Regions from separate parts of the Homo sapiens genome. Here region 1 is linked to region 2. Evidence: promoter capture Hi-C in human tissues and cell types (Jung and others, 2019). All regions are on one chromosome and are shown on one strand. Each heading gives the region's core, a stretch centred on a gene start or on the middle of the fragment in contact. The rest is flanking DNA. Distances are from core to core; before and after follow the strand shown. Region 1 overlaps SRRM2 (serine/arginine repetitive matrix 2). Region 2 holds the start of PRSS21 (serine protease 21).

Region 1 (4,417 bases), core at 98-2,597, 51 kb before region 2:
GGGTGGGCCACATTTTTCTCCAGAACATAAAGAACTGTCTAACTCCCCACTCAGGGAGAACAGCTTTGGATCACCTTTAGAATTTAGAAACTCAGGCCCACTTGGTACAGAAATGAATACTGGATTTTCTTCTGAGGTTAAAGAAGATTTGAATGGACCGTTTCTTAATCAGCTGGAAACAGATCCATCTCTAGACATGAAAGAACAATCGACAAGATCCTCTGGACACAGCAGTTCTGAGTTATCCCCAGATGCAGTGGAAAAGGCAGGGATGTCTTCAAATCAGAGCATCTCTTCACCTGTGCTTGATGCTGTACCCAGAACACCCTCGAGAGAAAGAAGTAGTTCTGCATCTTCTCCTGAAATGAAAGATGGTTTACCCAGAACTCCATCAAGGAGAAGCAGGTCTGGGTCTTCTCCAGGACTTAGAGATGGGTCTGGGACTCCCTCGAGGCACAGCCTGTCTGGGTCCTCTCCTGGAATGAAAGATATACCTAGAACGCCATCTAGAGGGAGAAGCGAATGTGATTCTTCCCCAGAACCGAAAGCTTTGCCTCAGACTCCTAGGCCGAGGAGTCGTTCTCCATCATCCCCAGAGCTCAACAACAAGTGTCTTACCCCCCAGAGAGAAAGAAGCGGGTCAGAATCATCAGTTGATCAGAAAACTGTGGCTCGGACTCCCCTGGGGCAGAGAAGTCGTTCGGGATCCTCTCAAGAACTTGATGTGAAACCCAGTGCATCCCCTCAGGAAAGAAGTGAGTCAGACTCTTCTCCAGATTCTAAAGCCAAGACAAGAACCCCACTTCGGCAGAGGAGTCGGTCTGGATCATCTCCAGAGGTTGACAGCAAATCTCGACTATCCCCTCGGCGCAGTAGGTCTGGTTCCTCCCCTGAAGTGAAAGATAAGCCAAGAGCAGCACCCAGGGCACAGAGTGGTTCTGATTCCTCTCCTGAACCTAAAGCTCCAGCCCCTCGGGCCCTTCCCAGACGAAGCAGATCAGGTTCATCAAGCAAAGGCAGAGGCCCTTCTCCTGAAGGAAGCAGCAGTACCGAGTCCTCTCCTGAACATCCGCCCAAATCCAGAACTGCTCGCAGAGGTTCCAGGTCATCACCAGAGCCCAAGACCAAGTCTCGTACACCACCTCGACGTCGCAGCTCTCGATCATCTCCGGAGCTAACAAGGAAGGCCAGACTGTCCCGTAGAAGCCGCTCTGCCTCATCCTCACCAGAAACTCGCTCTAGAACTCCCCCAAGGCACCGGAGAAGTCCCTCAGTGTCTTCCCCGGAGCCAGCCGAAAAATCGAGGTCTTCACGCCGACGGCGCTCAGCTTCATCTCCACGCACTAAGACAACCTCAAGGAGAGGCCGCTCTCCTTCGCCAAAGCCTCGTGGACTCCAGAGGTCCCGTTCCCGCTCAAGGAGAGAGAAAACAAGAACAACCCGACGTCGAGATAGGTCTGGATCTTCTCAGTCAACCTCTCGGCGAAGACAGCGGAGCCGGTCAAGGTCGCGGGTTACTCGGCGGCGGAGGGGAGGCTCTGGTTATCACTCAAGGTCACCTGCCCGGCAGGAAAGTTCCCGGACCTCCTCTCGACGCCGAAGAGGCCGCTCTCGGACACCCCCAACCAGTCGGAAGCGTTCTCGCTCACGCACATCACCAGCCCCGTGGAAACGCTCTAGATCTCGAGCCTCTCCAGCCACTCACCGGCGATCCAGGTCCAGAACCCCCCTGATAAGCCGACGTAGGTCCAGATCTCGAACTTCACCAGTCAGCCGGAGACGGTCAAGGTCCAGGACTTCAGTGACTCGACGAAGATCCCGGTCAAGAGCATCCCCAGTGAGCAGAAGGCGATCCAGATCCAGAACGCCACCAGTAACCCGCCGTCGTTCAAGGTCTAGAACGCCAACAACACGCCGCCGCTCCCGTTCTAGAACTCCACCAGTGACTCGCAGAAGGTCCAGATCCAGGACTCCACCAGTAACCAGGAGGCGATCTCGAAGCAGAACTTCGCCTATCACTCGCAGAAGATCAAGATCCAGAACATCTCCGGTCACCCGAAGGAGATCTCGATCTCGCACATCTCCAGTAACTCGAAGAAGGTCCCGCTCTCGAACCTCACCAGTGACACGCCGCCGCTCTAGGTCCCGGACACCTCCAGCTATTCGGCGCCGCTCTAGATCTCGAACGCCACTGTTACCACGCAAACGTTCTCGAAGTCGCTCACCACTTGCTATCCGCCGCCGCTCCAGATCCCGTACTCCACGAACAGCTCGGGGTAAACGGTCCTTAACAAGATCTCCTCCAGCCATCCGCAGGCGTTCTGCATCTGGAAGTAGTTCTGATCGTTCACGATCTGCTACTCCTCCAGCAACAAGAAATCATTCTGGTTCACGGACACCTCCAGTAGCACTCAACAGTTCCAGAATGAGCTGCTTCAGTCGTCCTAGCATGTCCCCAACACCTCTTGATCGCTGCAGATCACCTGGAATGCTTGAACCCCTTGGCAGCTCTAGAACACCCATGTCTGTCCTGCAGCAAGCCGGCGGCTCCATGATGGATGGTCCAGGTCCCCGAATACCTGACCACCAGAGAACATCTGTGCCAGAAAATCATGCTCAGTCCAGGATTGCACTTGCCCTGACAGCTATCAGTCTTGGCACCGCTCGGCCTCCTCCGTCCATGTCTGCTGCTGGCCTTGCTGCAAGAATGTCCCAGGTTCCAGCCCCGGTGCCTCTCATGAGTCTCAGAACCGCACCAGCAGCCAACCTTGCCAGCAGGATTCCTGCAGCCTCTGCGGCAGCCATGAACCTAGCCAGCGCCAGGACACCTGCCATTCCAACAGCAGTGAACCTGGCTGACTCTCGAACGCCAGCTGCAGCAGCGGCCATGAACTTGGCCAGCCCCAGAACAGCGGTGGCACCTTCGGCTGTGAACCTGGCTGACCCTCGCACTCCCACAGCCCCAGCTGTGAACCTAGCAGGGGCCAGAACCCCAGCTGCCTTGGCAGCTCTGAGTCTCACAGGCTCTGGCACACCACCAACTGCTGCAAACTATCCCTCCAGCTCCAGAACACCACAGGCTCCAGCCTCTGCAAACCTGGTGGGTCCTCGGTCTGCACATGCCACAGCTCCTGTGAATATTGCCGGCTCCAGAACCGCCGCAGCCTTGGCCCCCGCGAGCCTCACCAGTGCTAGGATGGCTCCAGCATTGTCTGGTGCAAACCTCACCAGCCCCAGGGTGCCCCTTTCTGCCTACGAGCGTGTCAGTGGCAGAACCTCACCACCGCTCCTTGACCGAGCTAGGTCCAGAACACCACCGTCTGCCCCAAGCCAATCTAGGATGACCTCTGAACGGGCTCCCTCCCCTTCCTCTAGAATGGGCCAGGCTCCTTCACAGTCTCTTCTCCCTCCAGCACAGGATCAGCCGAGGTCTCCTGTGCCTTCTGCTTTTTCAGACCAATCCCGTTGTTTGATTGCCCAGACCACCCCTGTAGCAGGGTCTCAGTCCCTTTCCTCTGGGGCAGTGGCAACGACCACGTCCTCTGCTGGTGATCACAATGGCATGCTCTCTGTCCCTGCCCCTGGGGTGCCCCACTCTGATGTGGGGGAGCCACCTGCCTCTACTGGGGCCCAGCAGCCTTCTGCATTAGCCGCCCTGCAGCCAGCAAAGGAGCGGCGGAGTTCCTCCTCGTCGTCGTCGTCCTCTAGCTCCTCCTCTTCTTCATCATCGTCGTCGTCGTCCTCCTCCTCCTCTGGCTCCAGTTCTAGTGACTCAGAGGGCTCTAGCCTTCCTGTGCAACCTGAGGTGGCACTGAAGAGGTGAGGGAGCTTGACTTTTAGAAATCTTCAGTGGGGGAGGTATTGGGGATGGGTTGGGGAGTGGGGAGGGAGAAACCATGTCACAGGTGCTTGGCTCTTGGAGGAGGTATGGGGACCTTGACCCTCAAGCTGGGGGTAGAAGAGAATGCTGGGGCAGGGGGCGGAGGGAGGAGGAATGGGACAGATAAAAGTCTCCGAAGGTTCATTCTCTAGAGGATAATGATAAGTTTTCCGTCTCTACAGAGGACAGAACTAGAGGAAATGGACTTAATTTTACAGCAGGAGGGATGGCAGTTAGACCTCAAGAGGAACTCCCTGGGCTGGAAGGATCTTCAGAGGTCATCCCATCCCTCTCCCTGCCTCCAGGCAGGACGGCCCCTTCCCCAGCCAACCTGCACTCACAGGGGCCTCCCCAAGCTGCGGCTCTCCGAGGAAGGAGACTACCCAGCTTCAGCTTCCACACCTGAGCCCAGAGGCCTTATTCCTCCATCAGGGACATTCTTGAGGTTTAACCTTGATCCCTTATGCTGCGGGCCCCAGCCTGTTGCTTCTGTTAGCAGAGGTTGGGTCAGCTCGCACCACTGCTCTCCAGAGAATT
Region 2 (4,319 bases), core at 1,173-3,672:
AACGGGGATCACACATGGTCGTTCACACACGTGCACTTGAAGATGCATGCACACACATACACCCAGACACACACACCCGCCCAGCCTCTCCTGCACGCAGGGGGCATGCACACACGAGGACGCTCCTCACCTGCATGCCTGACCTGGGGAAGAAGCCCACCTGGTGGGAGGCACCCTCCTCCCACCCTCCATCTGCCATGGCCCAAGTGCTGGCCCCGAGCCCGTGCCCAGGGAGACTCAACACAGGCCCTTTGTCCCTTGGGATCAGGGCTCCCAAGAGAGGGATTTACTGAGCATTTATTTCCTGCCCCGGGCACGCCCCAGTCCTCATTCTGCCAGGAGAAGGGAACAATGAGGCCTTCTCCTGCCCGCAGAGGTGGCTCCGGGCCGGCTGGCCCTTATGTGTCAGGAGTCGGGTTAGGACCACAAGTCCCTGTCCTCCCTGCCCTCCAGGTGTGGGGCTTGGGAAGACCCCTCTGTGACTCTGCAGCCTGAGGCACAGCAGACAAGAGAGTCTCCATCTGCAGCCCATGCAGCAGCCAGGGCCTCCCTGCAGCCCCCGGGCCAGGCTTGGCCTCTGCGGGAAGCCCCCAGCCTCACTGGAGGCAAGAACCTGAGTCCCTGGCTCAGATCTCCGGGTAGGACTGGCCTGACTGAGACCCTGGGCAAAACCAGGAGCTGACACCTCCTAGGGGCCTCAGCGGATCCCTGGGACTCAGGAACCAGAGGGAACGTCCTGCTGGCTGGGAGAGGGGCAGGATCAGAAGCCCAGGGACCTTTGCCCCAACCCAGCAGGCCAAGGCCAGGCTGTGCATGTGACTTGTCCTTGAGCAGCTGCTGCTGGGGAAGGAGGCCCTGAGGGAAGGCACCGCAGCCTTGTGCTCCTGAAACCCGAAGCTCCCACACACCCGCTGCGCCCTCATTGAGTTCCCGTTGGTACCATGCTCTGTGCTAAGCATTTTATCTGTACTTTCCCCAAAGAAACTTAATACTTTTATTGGAAAACCAGAACGCCTAACCACACATTTTGCCTAATCTTTCATGTAATTAACCTTCCACTAGTGCAAGTGTTGAAAGTAGAATACGCTATTCCCAAGTTTCAAGTTGAGGGAGGCGGGATTCCCAGGTTCTGGTTGTACATTCCCATTTTCACTGATCTGTTCAGTGGTCAATGGATTCTTGGGTTGCTTTCATGTCAGCTACTGTGAATAATCCTGCTATGAACATGGGTATACAAATATCTCTTGAAGGCTGGGTGGGGTGGCTCACACCTTCACCCTGGCACTTTGGGAGGCCGCAGAGGGCAGATCACCTGAGGTCAGAAGTTCAAGACCAGCCTGGCCAACATGGCGAAACCCCATCTCTACTAAAAATACAAAAATTAGCTAAGCATGGTGGCAGGTGCCTCTAATCCCAGCTACTCTGGAGGCTGAGACAGGAGAATCACTTGAACCCAGGAGGCAGATGTTGCAGTGAGCCAAGATCGCACCACTGCACTCCAGCCTGAGCGATGGAGCAAGACTCCATCTCAAAAACAAACAAAACTAAATCCCCCCAAAAAACCAAAAACAAATATCTCTTGAAGACCTTCCTTTCAGTTCTTTTGGGTGTATGCTCAGAAGTGGAATTGCAGCTGGGCGCGGTGGCTCATGCCTGTAATCCCAGCACTTTGAGAGGCCGAGGTGGGCGGATTACCTGAGGTCAGGAGTTGGAGACCAGCCTGGTTAACATGGCGAAACCCCGTCTGTACTAAAAATACAAAAATGAGCCAGGTGTGCTGGCGCGCGCCTGTAACCCCAGCTACTTGGGAGGCTGAGGCAGGAGAATCGCTTGAACCCAGGAGGTGGAGGTTGCAGTGAGCTGGGATCACGCCAATGCACTCCAGCCTGGGCGACAAGAGCGAAACTCCATCTCAAAAAAAAAAAAAATTGTTCCAGAGAAGTGAAGAGAGCCCAGCGGGAGCCCGCAGTGGGGACAGCCTGGGCAGAGACTTGGGGAGATCCCCATTCTGGGTGGAACGGGCCGAGGACCACTGTTTTCCCAAGAAGGTCCCATGAAGGAGCAGCCATGCCTCTAGGCCCCACCCGGCCTTCAGGGGGTCCCCAGGCTTTAAGGGGACTCCTGGCTCAGGGCCAGGCCCTTGGTGCTGGAGGAGGTTGTAGGTGGAGGACGGGGTCACCAAGAGGGCAGCCGGGACCCCTGGGCTGCAGACAAGAAAGGGACTGTGGGGTCCACCGGGTCTGGGCCACATCAAGAAGTGTGGTTGAAGACCCGCCCCTAGGGGCTGAAAGCCAGGGCGCTGCCAGGCATGAGAGGCCCCAAACAGCCCTTGGGCCCAGGAGGGTGAAGCTGGGAGTAGAGGGCAGAGCTCCCACCCCGCCCCGCCCCCAGGGGGCGCCCCGGGCCCGGCGCGAGAGGAGGCAGAGGGGGCGTCAGGCCGCGGGAGAGGAGGCCATGGGCGCGCGCGGGGCGCTGCTGCTGGCGCTGCTGCTGGCTCGGGCTGGACTCAGGAAGCCGGGTGAGCTCGGGGCGCTGCTGGCGGGATGGGGAGGCGGGGGAGCGGTGGGGAGGACGGGAGGTGGAGGCCGCGGGGAGTCACTTCTTGTCTCCCGCAGAGTCGCAGGAGGCGGCGCCGTTATCAGGTAGGGCGCCCAGGACGCGCGATTCCTGCCAGGGCCGTTGGGCCGAGGTGGACGGGGGGCGGTGAGGGGGTAGAGGGGGGCCTTTACTGCTCTCTCGCCCCCGCCCCCGGGATCGAGAACTCTGTTGGCGTGGAAAGTAACTAACGGACGCTGGAGGGGGATGGGCGGGCCCTGCAGAGCACGTGGGAGGATCTCCAGTGTCACCTACTTCCTGCTGCACACACGCGAGGGGACCCTGGGTGGGCAAAAACGTGCTTTCCCGGACGGGGTTGAAGGGGAGAAAGGGAGAGGTCGGGCTTGGGGGGCTGCCTCCCGCGGCTCAGCAGTTCCTCTGACCATCCGAGGACCATGCGGCCGACGGGTCATCACGTCGCGCATCGTGGGTGGAGAGGACGCCGAACTCGGGCGTTGGCCGTGGCAGGGGAGCCTGCGCCTGTGGGATTCCCACGTATGCGGAGTGAGCCTGCTCAGCCACCGCTGGGCACTCACGGCGGCGCACTGCTTTGAAACGTGAGTGGGGGTGCGAACGGAGGGGTGCGGGGACGGGCAGGAACAGGGCTGGAGGGAGTGCCACCGAACTTTACCTCTGGTCTGATGCCAGACTTGGGCGTGAAAGTTGTGCGTGGATGCGGCCTGGTGTTCTCCTGAGCCCCAGGCTGTGCTGCAGCCGGTTACACCCACTCCAGTTCCCTTTGGGTCTCCTGGAGGGAACCCTGTTCAGGTTATTCCAGAATGTTCTTCCAGAACATTTCCACACACTTTTGGGTATTCTCTCCCTTTTTCTTTCAACCCAAAGTTCACCACTGACCATCCCACCCTCATCCCCCCTCCTGGTGGACGGTGCGGTACAGTGTGGGGCACTGAGCCAAGGCCAGCACCCCCGGGCCGCTGTGTGGACTCCATCCTGCCAATCCCACATTGGCGTGGTGCATCTCCCCATTCCTCCTTGGGCTGCATGGGGGTGCCCCTGGAGGCCTTGGCTCAATGCAAGGCTCCTTGGGACAGCTCTGGGAGGTGACAAGACCCCACCCTTCTGCTGCAGGAGCAGGTCCTAGGACTTTGGTTGTGGTCTGTCTGGGCTCCTTCATTTCTGCAGGGGACCCTGGGTGTTAGCAAGTAGCAGCAACACCACAGTTTCCCCTCCTGCACTGGACCCCAGTTGTGCTCAGGTAGCCAGCCCTCCATCCAGGGCCCCTGACTGCTCTCTTCTCTTCTGCCAGCTATAGTGACCTTAGTGATCCCTCCGGGTGGATGGTCCAGTTTGGCCAGCTGACTTCCATGCCATCCTTCTGGAGCCTGCAGGCCTACTACACCCGTTACTTCGTATCGAATATCTATCTGAGCCCTCGCTACCTGGGGAATTCACCCTATGACATTGCCTTGGTGAAGCTGTCTGCACCTGTCACCTACACTAAACACATCCAGCCCATCTGTCTCCAGGCCTCCACATTTGAGTTTGAGAACCGGACAGACTGCTGGGTGACTGGCTGGGGGTACATCAAAGAGGATGAGGGTGAGGCTGGGGACAGGCGGGTCAGGGAGGAACTGTCTTTGTTCACCTGTTCCCCTGCATAGGCACAATAGCCCCCTGCTTGGTCTGGGGGTGCAGGCTATGCCCCTCTTGCTTGCAGTCTCTCCTCACCTGCCAGGGCAGGGACCAAACACCCAGTTCTCTCC

Evidence for each region. The method cuts DNA at HindIII sites, captures the fragments that hold promoters and counts their contacts. A contact is called where the count stands out against the background at its distance.
Region 1: a fragment that was not itself captured here is called in contact with the fragment with the promoter of PRSS21 in region 2 in 3 of the 25 tissues and cell types used here (IMR-90 fibroblasts, mesendoderm cells and thymus).

What each region holds. Positions count from the first base shown.
Region 1 is chr16:2,764,443-2,768,859 of GRCh38, forward strand. SRRM2 (serine/arginine repetitive matrix 2) reads left to right here. Exons shown (of 15, transcript NM_016333.4): 11 at 1-3,819. Among named protein-coding and RNA genes, the nearest start is that of ELOB, 11 kb to the right of the region's middle. The HindIII fragment of the contact is 3,944 bases long and covers 1-3,319 here.
Region 2 is chr16:2,814,815-2,819,133 of GRCh38, forward strand. It overlaps PRSS21 (serine protease 21), which reads left to right and starts at 2,423. Exons shown (of 6, transcript NM_006799.4): 1 at 2,423-2,518; 2 at 2,616-2,642; 3 at 2,987-3,152; 4 at 3,863-4,155. The coding sequence starts at 2,455. RefSeq lists an enhancer at 125-625 and silencers at 2,291-2,570, 2,681-2,740. The HindIII fragment of the contact is 10,567 bases long and covers 775-4,319 here.